Linked DNA regions of Homo sapiens: all the other regions are linked to region 1. Evidence: promoter capture Hi-C in human tissues and cell types (Jung and others, 2019). All regions are on one chromosome and are shown on one strand. The core of a region is centred on a gene start or on the middle of the fragment in contact, and the rest is flanking DNA. Distances in the headings are between cores, read along the strand shown.

What was found. Contacts are between HindIII fragments. The study calls those that stand out against the background at their distance.
Region 2: a fragment that was not itself captured here is called in contact with the fragment with the promoter of SLC37A3 in region 1 in 1 of the 25 tissues and cell types used here (mesenchymal stem cells).
Region 3: a contact is called between a fragment that was not itself captured here and the fragment with the promoter of SLC37A3 in region 1, in 1 of the 25 tissues and cell types used here (mesenchymal stem cells).

What each region holds. Positions count from the first base shown.
Region 1 is chr7:140,397,280-140,401,542 of GRCh38, forward strand. SLC37A3 (solute carrier family 37 member 3) reads right to left here and starts at 1,251. Exons shown (of 15, transcript NM_207113.3): 1 at 1,137-1,251. RefSeq lists silencers at 789-1,058, 1,169-1,398. The HindIII fragment of the contact is 36,664 bases long and covers 1-4,263 here.
Region 2 is chr7:140,133,658-140,138,170 of GRCh38, forward strand. All of the region lies in intron 2 of KDM7A (lysine demethylase 7A), which reads right to left. Among named protein-coding and RNA genes, the nearest start is that of KDM7A, 41 kb to the right of the region's middle. The HindIII fragment of the contact is 3,729 bases long and covers 1-3,471 here.
Region 3 is chr7:140,108,337-140,112,928 of GRCh38, forward strand. It overlaps KDM7A (lysine demethylase 7A), which reads right to left. Exons shown (of 20, transcript NM_030647.2): 11 at 2,759-2,848. Among named protein-coding and RNA genes, the nearest start is that of PARP12, 48 kb to the left of the region's middle. The HindIII fragment of the contact is 4,968 bases long and covers 1-4,435 here.

The sequences.
Region 1 (4,263 bases), core at 1-2,500:
GCCTCCCAGGTTCAAGCGATTCTCCTGCCTCAGCCTCCCGAGTAGCTGGGATTACAGGCATGCGCCACGACGCCCAGCTAATCTTTGTATTTTTAGTAGAGACGGGGTTTCACCATGTTGGCCAGGCTGGTCTTGAACTCCTGACCTCAAGGAATCCACAGGCCTCGGCCTCCCAAAGTGCTGGGATTACAGGCATGAGACACCGCGCCCAACCCGAAGCTCAATTTCCTCATGTATTAATTAAATGAGATAATTTATATGGAGTTCTTAGTATAGAGCCTAGTATCCAAGAAACATCAAACAAACTGAAAAGAAATCATTTAAGCACCAAAGCACTGAAGACATTCCCTTCAACAACTGTTATATATATTTATGTATGTATAAATTTGTGTAAAGGTAGAAATAAACCGGTGGACAAAAAGATAACAACTGAATGATTTTGCTCACCCCAGGAACCACTCCTCCCTATAAACTATAAACTTTTCAGTAAGAGTTACCACGAGATAGCCTACCATCTTACATTTCAAAAAAACACTAAAAACTCCGGGGACACATTCCCATTATCTCCTGTCAAAACTGAGAATAAACAGAACACACCCTGCGAAGAATAAGGAGGGAATGACGAATAATTTGACCAAATTCCTTGACTGAGTTCATGCTAGTTACCAGAAAACAAAACCAGTCACTCACTGAGACCACGCTTCTTCTCTGACCTCTATACATCCTTTCCAAAGAGCTTCCTTCCCCACCTACCTGAAAAGCATCCCCTCTCCCCTGGTCCGAACGACAAGCCCTTTTCTGATCAAGTCAGAATCTCCCAGACCCACGGCCGGAGGACAGGCGGGCGAGGAGCACAAAAGCCTCTGCCGCATGGATCGGGGCCGGGCCGCAGGGTCCCCCGGGGGTCCTTCTCCTCCCCATCCACCCCATCGCAGCCTCCCCGTGACGGCCGGGACCCCAGGCCCGGGCCCAGGGAGGAGAAGGAGGGGGCGAGCGGCCGACCCTGCCTGGGCGCCCCACCCAAGGGGGGCCGCCACCTACATCTCCCCACCGCCCTCCCGACCCGGGAAGCCCCTCGGATTGGACCCGCCCCCGCCCCAGCAGGTCTTCGGCCCCACGCATCACCGCTTGCGCACCCGAGATCCGCAGTGGTCGCCGCTCTCCAGCCCCGGCTCCGCTCGCCGGGTCAGCTTGGCTCCGCTGCCCGCCTCCCCCGCCGCCAGCTCACCCCTGGCGGTGCGACCAGGGTTTCCGGACGCCCACGTGACCCTCCCGTCGCGGGGCACGCTGGGAGTTGTAGTCCCGCCACGCGGCCTCACCTGCCGGCGCGGAGGAGGGCGAGGAGGGCGGAGGCTGGGAGCCCACAGAACTCTGCTGCTGCGGACCTGGCCAGTAATGTTAGCTGCAAAAGACGAGAGGTAGAGAGAAGAAATGATATGGGGAGAACTGGTGCATCCTTTTTTTTTTTTTTTTTTTTTTTTTTTCAAAAAAGCGGTATTCGGTCTTTGTTTTTATAAAAAGTAACGTGCTGCTAAGTGTGCTACTGACCGGCCTAAATTTTAGGTGTCTAATTAAATGCAGGCCGGGCACAGTGGGCTCACGCCTGTAATCCAACACTTTAGGAGGTCGAGAAGGGAGGATCACTTGAACCCAGTAGTTCAAGACCAGCCTTAGCAACATAGCCAGACCCCATCTCTACAAAAAATGTTAAAATTAGCCAGGAGTAGTGGCATGTGCCTGTGGTCCCTGCTACTGGGGCGACCGAGGTGCGAGGATCGCTTGAGCCCAAAAGTTTGAGGCTGGCAGCTGTGATTGCTCCACTGCACCAGCCTGGGCAACAGAACGAGACCCTGCCTCCAAAAAAAAAAAATCCAACACAAGTGTCTCACACCTGTAATCCTAACACTTTGGGAGGCCGAAGTAGGAGCATCATTTGAGAACAAGAGTTTGAGACCAGCCTGGGCAAGGTAGTGAGAGCCGCCCCCCATCCACCACCACCACCGCCGCCACCGTTTCTTAAATAAAGGGAAAAAATACAGACACTTGTTCGAATTTTAAAGAAAAAAAACTTCTCTTAATCCAGAAAATCTCCACAACAACCATTACATACCTGTTCTCAAGATAAACAATCACTAGTCTTCAAATAACAGAACTTGACAACACCTTTTGTCAAACATAGTTCCTCCTTACTTAATAGTAGTAATTGGGGAGACCACTCATGTTGGCTTTATCCAGAAGCAAAACAAACTTCGCATAACTTTTTGTTGTTGTTGTTCGTTTTTTAAACTTCGCATATCTTTTTGTTTGTTTGTTTTTTGTTTTTGAGACGGAGTCTTGCTCTGTTACCCAGGCTGGAGTGCAGTGGCGTGATCTCAGCTCACTGCAAGCTCCGCCTCCCGGGTTCAAGGGATTCTCCTGCCTCAGCCTCCCGAATAGCTGGGACTACAGGCGCCCGCCACCACGCCTGGCTAATTTTTTTGTATTTTTAGTAGAGACGGGGTTTCACCGTGTTAGCCAGGATGGTCTCGATCTCCTGACCTCGTGATCTGCCCTCCTTGGCCTCCCAAAGTTCTAGCATTACAGGTGTGAGCCACCGCAGCCGGCCAAAGTTCGCATATCTTTATAGCAGGAGGTAGTTTTACAAATTGGAGCAAGGCGCCCATACCCACTAATTTAGTCTCTTACCCTCATGTAGGAACTGGAAGATACAGGCACTAACTCACGTCTGAATTTCAAAAAGATGACCCCCAAGTCCTTGAGGATACATTTCTGAGTTGTGATACTGGCAAGAGGCTCATTTCGCCGTTATAAAGATTTGTGTACATTCGAAAAGGACAGAGAAAGAAATTTTGAAGGAACAGAGAGAAGGCTGAGAAGTCTCTTTATTTTCAGCAGAGGAATTAAGCCTGTTATTTTTCATTTTTATTTGCCCTTATACAGTGGTAGTTTTGTTTCTAGCCCTTATACAGTGGTAGTTTTGTCTCTAGGCATCCAAGGAGAAATATGATGTCAGGGTGAGCAAAAATAAATGAGCCAAATATGTTACTTTTATTTTTAAAAATATATTGTGAATCGTTTATTTTTCAGCCTAAAAAAGGTAGCAAATTCTGACACATACTACAACATAGACGAACCTTCAAAAACATTATGCTAAGTGAAATAAGTCAGACATAAAAGGACCAGTACAGTACAGTTCCACTTATATGAGGTAGCCAGAGTAGTGAAATTCATAGAGTCAGAAAGTAGCATGGTGGTTGCCCATGGCTGGAGGGAAGGGGAAATGAGAAATTGTTGTTTAATGGCTATGGAGTTTCCGTTTGGGATGCCAAAAAAGTCCTGGAGATGGATGGTGATGTTGGTTGCACAACAATGTATTTAATGCCATTGAATTGTACACTTAAAAACGGTTAAAATGGTAAATATATATACATAGAGTGAAATACATAGTTTTTTGTGTTATATTTACATATGGGTGTATACATATATATGTGTGTGTGTATACTTCAAGTATATAACCTGTGTCACCACCACTCAGGGCTAGAATGCCTTCTTAGCCATGTGGTGGTGTGTATCTTTAATCCCAGCTACTAGGGAGGTTGAGGTAGGAGGATCACTTCAGCCGCACCTTTGGAGGCTGCAGTGAGCTATGATCGTACCACTGTGCTCCAGCCTGGGTGACAGAGGGAGACCCAGTCTCTTAAAAAAGAAAAAACAGTGTATATATACACACACATTTATACATATGAATGCCTTCTTTCCTGTAGCCCAAGCTATGCTCTTTGTATTTATAGTGACCTTGGTGGAGAGGGTTGGGTGGTAGACAGAGGTAAGATCTCTCTCCCCTTGACTTCCAAAACCATCAGGATATTTAAATATTTGTAACATTTGTTTTCTACCTGTAGATGTTCTCCAAGTGCTCAGTGGGTCTGAGTCAGGTGACTTTTTTTTTAAACAGTAACCACCCCAGGTGCGGTGGCTCACCCCTATAATCCCAGCACTTTGGAAGGCCGAGGCAAGTGGATCACCTGAGGTCAGGAGTTCCAGACCAGCCTGGCCAACATAGTGAAACCCCATCTCTACTAAAAATACAAAAATTAGCTGGACGTGGTGGCGGGTGCCTGTAATCCCAACTACTCGGGAGGCTGAGGCAGGAGAATCGCTTGAACCCGGGAGGTGGAGGTTGCAGTGAGCCAAGATCGCACCATTGCACTCGAGCCTGAGTGACAAAAGCTAAACCTTATCTCAGGAAAAAAAAAAAAAAAG
Region 2 (4,513 bases), core at 357-2,856, 260 kb before region 1:
TGGATTTTTAAAAGATTAAAAAAAAATGATTTTGGTAACTGGTGATACTATGTGATTTCTAATCATTATATCCGACATAATCAGAAATAACAATTGTAAGTACATTAAAAACACTCAAGTTTTTAATGCATTTCCAGGCCTGAGAATTTTGCTTAATGTAATGCTGCAATTACAGACAATTAACTGTGGATTTTTAAAACCTACTCTTTTTATTTCAAAACATATAAAATTAAAGCAACAAATTCAAATCAGCAGATGGAGCCTTTTATAATGTCCACACTTATAGATACTATACAATTTCCAAATTATATACAATTATGATTTTCATCAGAACATTAGGTCCTAATATGATTATCCAGATAATCCAAATCGTCTTCTCAGGACAGGGCCTTTTATCTCACATTAGAAATCTATTCTAATAGCATCATTCCTTCCTCTTTCATGTGAAGACTTACTCCCTAAATAAGCACAGTTACACTGACATAAAGAAGAGCAGGTGACTGAGTCATAATTAAAGAAAGACGGGTAGCATGACAAAATACATAACTTCATCATTTATTCCAATGCTAAGACCCTGTAATTCTACAGCTCTGGAAGGCTATGACCTTGAGTAGTCACAGCAATCGAAATCAGAAGATTTGGATTTGATTCCTAGTTCAGCCAATAGCTTTCTCTGCAATCTTGGGCAGGTCACTTAACACCTATGGATCCAGATTCCTCAATGTAGGAATGAAGGGGTGGATTAAACTGCTAATTTTCAAACTGTGTGGAAGAACCCTTCACAAAGGGGAGATGGGGAAAAAGCCAAGGAATGATCTCTGGACCTCATTCCTCTTTCCAGCAGAGTGGCACTACCTACAGCTCTTGTGTGTTGTATCAATGTACAATTTCTGTTTTAAATCTTTTTTTTTTTTAAGCTTGAAAATTACTCTTAAGCCTAAAACCTCTATGATTCTGGAAAATGTACTGATATCTGCAATTTATTTAGAAACGCATCAAAAAAATAAGATGGGTAGACAGCAGAATAGTTACATGGATAGATATGTGTTAGAGCATGTAATGAAAATGTTAATAGTAGAATCTAGATGATAAGGCTTATAGGTGCTTGCTGTAAAATTCTTCCAATTTTTCCTATATGTTTGAACATTTTCACAATATGTTTTGGGGAAAACAACTTTATGATTCCAAGTTATTTTAAACCTTTTCCACCTTACAAAGATCACAGTAATACAACAACATTGGGTCCTCATGTCGATAAGAAGTCACAATAATTAACAGAGGTGGAAATCAGGCTTATTCAACTATCTAAGAGTCTAAAACAAGATTCCCAAGTAACTTATGGCAGCCAAATCTTCAATATGGAAGAGCGTAAGTCCCATTAAAAAAAAAAAAAAACAAACTCACAAAAATTTAGAATCACAAAGCAAACTTCCTAGGAAATTCCATTAAAACATCCTTTGCATGTTATTTTTTCTCATTTAAAATCACTCCTAAATTTGAGTGTATTTCATTCCAGATTTTTTCTACTATATATAGATACATAACTCCTTTTTTTTTTTTTTTTTGAGACAGAGTCTTGCCCTGTTGCCAGGCTGGAGTGCAGTGGCATGATCTCGGCTCATTGCAACCTCCGCCTCCCAGGTTCCAGCAATTCCCCTGCCTCAGCCTCCTGAGTAGCTGGACTACAGGGGTGTGCCACCACATTCGGCTAATTTTTTGTATTTTAGTAGAGATGGGGTTTCACCATGTTGGCCAGGATGGTCTCGATCTCCTGACCTTGTGATCCGCCCACCTTGGCCTCCCAAAGTGCTAGGATTACACGTGTGAGCCACTGCGCCCAGCCCATAACTCCATTTTATCTTCAATTGGGATCACAATGTTTATCCTGCTTATCTTTCTTATTATATAATGAGCATTTTCTTTTTATTAAATATTTAAAACAGACTACAATTTTAAGATGTAGATATACCATATTATAATCATTTTTTGATTCTTAAGCACTTAGTTCATTCTGAATCTTTCTTCAAAGTTGAAATTCATGTTTGTATATATTAATGTTTCCCTGATTAATTCCTCAGAATAAATTCTAAGAAATGCTAGAAAAAAGACCAACATTTTTAAGATAATTGCTACATATTACAAAACTGTCTCCAAAAAAGTGGTACTAGTAACTTACTTTCCTTACTAGTATTATATAAGAAGCGTATTTCATACCCCTGGGTTAACAATGGGCATCAGTACTTAAAAGAAAAAAAAAAAAAAGGCAGCCCATTTGATAGGTAAAGTATGATATTGCATTTTTAAGTTTTATTTCTTTTTTAAGACATGGTCTCCCTCTGTCACCCAGGCTGGAGTACAGTGGCGCAATCACAGTTCACTGCAGCCTCAAGCTCCTGGGCTCAAGCAATCCTCCTATCTCAGCAACCCCAGTAGTTAATTTTCATTTTTGCAGAAGAGATTAATCAGTGAAGTGCATCAGCTTTGGAATTAGACTGCTAGGGGTTCAAACTCCAGCTCTGCCAAATAGCTACATAAAAGGGCTAGCTAGATCATTTTTCTCATTTCTCACATGGAGTTGTTATAAATGTCAAAGAAGATAACATAGGTTAAGTACTTACTTACCTACTATAGTGCCTACCATGTAATAAGCTGCCAATCACTATCATTTCCTTTTAAATGTGCTGACTTGGAGGAGGTTAACAGAAGGATACAATTGTCCTGTTGGGCCAACATGCTAACCATAAAATCAGCCACTATGTAACAGCTGATTGAATTTCTTAAAGGAAGGAGGTCAGTGAAGGAATATTTTAGTAATGGTTAAAGGGAAAGGAGAAAATTTTGTGTTTGGATTGCATGTGCCTAAAGAAGACAGAGAATACATATTTAAGTTATTTGTGGGCTGTTTTTTGATACCTGCCCTCAAATAGAGTTCTTAATTCCCAGTAAGAGGGTAAAGTCTAAATTCACCATATGAAGTAGTTATTATACTGGCTAAATGGTATCAATAATAAGGACTCCTAGGGAATCTCTGAAACCAACAGGAAACCCAGGTAGCAAGTAAGACAGGCCTAAGAGGCCAGGCGCAGTGGCTCACGCCTGTAATCTCAGCACTTTGAGAGGCCGAGGCGAGACCAGCCTGGCCAACATGGTGAAACTCTGTCTCTACTGAAAATACAAAAATTAGCCAGGTGTGGTGGCACACAACCGTAATCCCAGCTACTCAGGAGGCTGAGGCAGGAGAATTGCTTGAACCTGTGAGGCGGAGGTTGCAGTGAGCCAAGACTGTGCCACTGCACTCCAGCCTGGGCGACAGCACAAGACTCCGTCTCAAAAAATAAAAAATAAATTAAAAAAAAAAAAAGAGAGAAGCTTAATAGCAGAGGGAAAGGGATCAAAAGGGATTAACCAAGTTGGGGATAGAAGGTGAGGAGTAGGGAAGGTGAGCCTTAAATCCAGATAGAACAGATGACTGGATCTTGGGTGTTTTCCCTGTAAGTACACAGAGTTGGACGTCTGACCAGAAGATAGTCAATGCCTGGTCTTATGTTCTTCAGGGATGAGAAGCATAGGCAAGCTTCTCTCCAAAGCATAATTACTCAAAGTTAAGTCGTGATCCATTATGGATTGTGTAATCAATTTAGTGAGTATAACATGTTTTTTAAAAAATTAAATCATATAGAAAAAAATGAAGTGTATCACATTATTCTGCCTCATAGTAACTTACTTAGTATTTCATAGAAGTTAAATTCAAATTATTTCATTTTGGGACTGTATACTTAAATTCTAAACTAAAACTGCTATAAATTTTAGTTAAGTCTCCCTTGAGATAACATCATATTATTTATTTACTTTCTCCAAGAGTTACTCCCAGTCAACAATTATTTCAAGTTATATATCATATACTCAGTGCTAGCCAGAGAAAAATCATTTAAAAACATTTATGACAATAAACTAGTCAATTACACATGTAACAGTTCCCCCAATTTGCTAACCTCAATTTTTATGCTGTATACTTAACAAAAGGAATAGCCTCTATTTTAAAAGGAAATATTTTAATGTATGCAGGTAGCTTAAATTTTTAAGTATCTTACAAAGATATTAGAAAAATTACTAATATTTCTAACAAAACAAATGAGCAGTCAGTTGCCAGTAAGTCTCTTTTGAAAAAATAGAACAAAATGTCTACTCTATTGGAAAAAAGTACTAGGAAAAAAGCTGCATGTAAAATAAAGAGGTCATATAAGTTACCTAAAACCAACCCAAGTGTGTATCAAGGTACATTCAGGCAAAGGTTTTAAAATGACAAAGCCTATAATTTTCCCTTTAATTTTGTGAATATAAAAATGCTAGTCTGCAGCCTAAAATGTCAAAACAAATAGTTATTACAGGCCAGGTGTGGTGGTTCATGCCTGAAATCACAGCACTTTTGGGAGTCTGAGGCAGAGTTCGAGACCAGCCTGGGCAACAAAGTGAGACCTTGTCTTTACAAAATATCAAAAAATTAACTGGGTGT
Region 3 (4,592 bases), core at 702-3,201, 290 kb before region 1:
CCTCTGGAGGGGAAGAGGCACTCTGATTTTTGGAATTTTCAGCTTTTCTGCTCTGTTTTTTTCCCCATCTTTGTGGTTTTATCTACCTTTGGTCTTTGATGATGGTGACCTAGAGATGGGGTTTTGGTGTGGATGTCCTTTCTGTTTGTTTTCCTTCTAACAGTCAAGACCCCTCAGCTGCAGGTCTGTTGGAATTTGCTGGAGGTCCACTCCAGACCGTTTGCCTGGGTATCACCAGCGGAGGCTGCAAATATTGCAGAACAGCAAAGGTTGCTGCCTGATCCTTCCTCTGGAAGCTTCGTCTCAGAGGGGCACCCAGCTGTATGAGGTGTCAGTCGGCCCTTACTGGGAGGTGTCTCCCATTTAGGCTACCCAGGGGTCAGGGACCCACTTGAGGAGGCAGTCTGTCCGTTCTCAGATCTCAAGCTGTGTGCTGGGAGAACCACTACTCTCTTCAAAGCTGTCAGACAGGGACGTTTAAGTCTGCAGAAGTTTCTGCTGCCTTTTGTTCAGCTATGCCCTGCCCCCAGAGGTGGAGTCTACAGAGGCAGGCAGGCCTCCTTGAGCTGTGGTGGGCTCCACCCAGTTTGAGCTTCCTGGCTGCTTCATTTACCTACTCAAGCCTCAGCAATGGTGGATGCCCCTCCCCTAACCTCGCTGCCACCTTGCAGTTTGATCTCAGACTGCTGTGCTAGCAGTGACCAAGGCTCCGTGGGTGTGGGACCCTCGGAGCCAGCGCAGGATATAACGTCCTGATGTGCTGTTTGCTAAGACCATTGGAAAAGTGCAGTATTAAGGTGGGAGTGTCCTGATTTTCCAGGTACCGTCTGTCACGGCTTCCCTTAGCTAGGAAAGGGAACTCCCCGACCCCTTGCACTTCCTGGGACAGGCGATGCACCGCCCTGCTTTGGCTCACGCTCCGTGGGCTGCACCCACTGTCCAACAAGCCCCAGTGAGATGAACCCAGTACCTCAGTTGGAAATGCAGAAATGACCCATCTTCTGTGTCGCTCACGCTGGGAGCTGTAGACTGGAGCTGTTCTTATTTGGCCATCTTGGAATCCTCCCAGTCAGCATTTCCTTCTTTTATAAGGCTGAGTAGTATTCCACTGTGAGTATGTCCCACACTTTATCTATTCACCTGCTGATGGACACCTGGGTTGCTTGGTCTATCTTTTGGCTATTGTGGATAATGCTGCTATAAACGTAGGTGTACAAATACCTGTTTGAGTCCCTGCTATCAATTCTTTTAGGTATATAGCCAGGACTTCCAACTCTTCTAAATGGTTTTCCCTGTAGTTATTTGCCTCCAAATTACAAAATGATATGTTTATACTGTTTTCAGCTTCAGATATTACTGAATTCCTATCATGCAAGATGAAGTCTTAATCCTTACACACCTCTCTTAAACATGCACATACCTCCCTTTCCTTCAATATTCAGTAAATTGGACTTGGTAAAAATTATTGATAACCCAGCGCCACATAACATATTGTCATTACATTCCCTTATTCAATCACTAACTGATTCCCAAATTATCCACTAGAAGAATACAAACATTCAAACACATTTGGTAATCTAATAATTTTATATTTTTCTCTGGAGACATCCTTCCTGGATAGGATTGCCAGATAAAATAACAGACACCCACTTAAACTTGAATTTCAGGTCATAACAAATATGGATCCTTTCATTCTTCTGATCCATCCTGAACTGGCTGCTCTCTAGACCAGTTTAATTACTCTTCCAAGTGTATTTTACCACTTTAAATTTGTAATACTAATTTAGAGCTGACTGACACTCCCATTTAACTACTGTTTTACTTCCTAAAAGTAAAGATTTATAGTTTTTCTTCATATAGAATCATACCTTTCACAGTAAGTTTATTCTTCATGTTGGTTATCATGCATGAGATTTATATATGTATAAACTTACATATATATTTAAGATTAGATATATGACTTTTGATACTAAATCAATTTAAATGTGATTACTGTAACACTTTAAAAACAGAACGTATTTTTCTCCTCTATCTGAACACATTGAGAATTACACATTCTATCCATTGATATTAAAGCAAGCATTTTAGTATTTTGTAAATGTATACCTCTTTCCATTCTCCAAACACAGCCCTAATGTAAGCTGTTAAATCATCAGCTGGCCTCCATTCCTCCACCTAATTTCCTCTCAATTTAAGCTAGACACTAACAGAACAACCTTCTTGAAGAATTACTTTAAAACACCCTTTCTTAAACACCGAGAATAGCTCTCAATTAATAAATTAAAACATCTCATCAGATTTTATGAGCTTTTATTAAAGGGCATTTACCTAAGCATCTCCTTGCCCCACTCTACTGCTTATCATCCCTCTCTCCATCTCAGCTTCCCTAGCTTGACTCATTCACCTTACATTTCTTCTCTTGTTCTAATTACATAAACATGTATTCCTCTCTGGGTAGCTGAAATTAACTGTATCTGAAAGTTCTACTGTTTATACTCTGTATTTTTGATTTTTTTTAAGTATCCTAAACTAGTAACTGTTTCCTTATTACTTCATTAGAATTCATTAGAATACAATATTTAAATTTCTCTTAAGGACTTCAGAGGCCTGAAAACCTGAGAAACCTCCAAAGACTCAGCTCATTATATTTCTTCTAAGTGTGTAAGAGTTTTTAAATATTTGTAGAGAGTGGAATAGATCCATTTGCTTCTCAAAGCAGATAATAATCAAGCATTTACATGACAGTTTCCACTCTTACCTCTATTGCTCGAATTACTTTAGAAAGTTCTTTAATAAGGTGTCCAGGTCTAACATTGTCTGGAATTTCAAAGGCATGTTCAGATACAAGCTGTATTTGGATTAACAAAAATAAGAAAACCAAAGTTATTTACACTTTAATATGTAAAAACAAATTTACTAAACCAATTTTTGGATTCTCTAAACTGTTACAGACATCGCCAAATACTAGTAAGCCAGGTTTCAGAGTTCGTGTAGCTAGTATAATGCCTTCTAAGGAGATTCTCATTAACATACAAAATCCTCTTAGACTGTGTTAAAAACAGACTAGTCTCACAGTGAATTTTGCTTTACATTGAGTAGTAACCTTGTACTCTACTCCTCAAAGCCTACTGTAATTCTAACTACTACTACTAATTCGTAAAGTGACAAATTAAGCTTAACATTTAATTCATAATGCATAAGGATTTTTAAGGAGAACACAGACACTAACGTAATCCTAATTTCTCTTGGGAAATCTAATTTGAATAAATTTTTGTACTTTTTTTTCTTTTAATAGTCAAAAGCAAAATAGAAAAAAGATCCCATCAATAGGAAAGGGGAAGGCCGGGCGCAGTGACTCACGCCTGTAATCCCAACACTTTGGGAGGCCAAGGCTGGCAGATCACCTGAGGTCAGAAGTTTGAGCCCAGCCTGGCCAACATGGCAAAACCCCGTCTCTACTAAAAATACAAAACTAAGCCAGGCGTGGAATCCCAGCTACTCAGGAGGGTGAGGTAGGAGAATCACTTGAACCCAGGAAGTGGAGGTTGCAGTGAGCCGAGATTGTGCCACTACACTCTAGTCTGCACAACAGAGTGAGACTCTGTCTCAAAAAAAAAAAAAAAGCTCTAAAGGGAATTCTGATAAAGTCACAAATTTGAGAATCACACATCTAAAGCCTTCAGTAGGAAACAAATTATACAGTTTTGGCAACATATGCTTTGTTTTGTTTTTATCTTGTTAAACAGTTTTAAATTTGCTTATGGCTTTCCTTGTCACCTAGACAATAAGGTCTTTCACAGTGGAGGACATGATTTTTATTTTCCTGAATGCTTCCACACTGTTGTGCTCTAGCAGATATGTAGCAATGATAATACAGTAAAAAGGGAGTATAAAATCATTGAGGCAGTAACCTATTAATTACTGTCTCCCAGTATTTCTTAAGAGCAAGATTTTTATTTCAAGGGGACATTCAAGAAATTAATATGGACACAGCCAGGCACAGTGGCTCATGACTGTAATTCCAGGACTTTGGAAGGCCAAGACGGGTGGATCACCTGAGGTCAGGAGCTCAAGACCAGCCTGGCCAACATGGCGAAACCTCATTTCTACTAAAACATACAAAAATTAACTAGGCGTGGTGGTGCGTGCCTGTAGTCCCAACTACTCGGGAGGCTGAGGCAGGAGAATCACTTGAACCCAGGAGGCGTAGGTTGCAGCGAGCCGAGATCGCACCACTGCAATCCAGCCTGGGCAACAGATTAAGACTCTGTCTAAAAAAAAAAAAAGAAATTAATATGGACATGTATTTTCATCAGCTCACATATGTATGTATCACCTATTAAAGTATTATGTGCAAAGTTCCATGGAGTTATAATAAAGATGAGAAAGACAGTCCCTGTTCAAGAGCTCACAGACCCAGTTGAAGGAAACACAAATATATTACTTTATAAACATTTGTTTTAAGCCCATAGGCACAAGAAATATAGCATGGATGCATAAGGGAAGGAAACACTAATTCCAAATGGAGATCTGGAGGTGGTGGGATTCAAATGCAAACAACTAGCTCATATTTTCATGAAAATGGAAAGCTC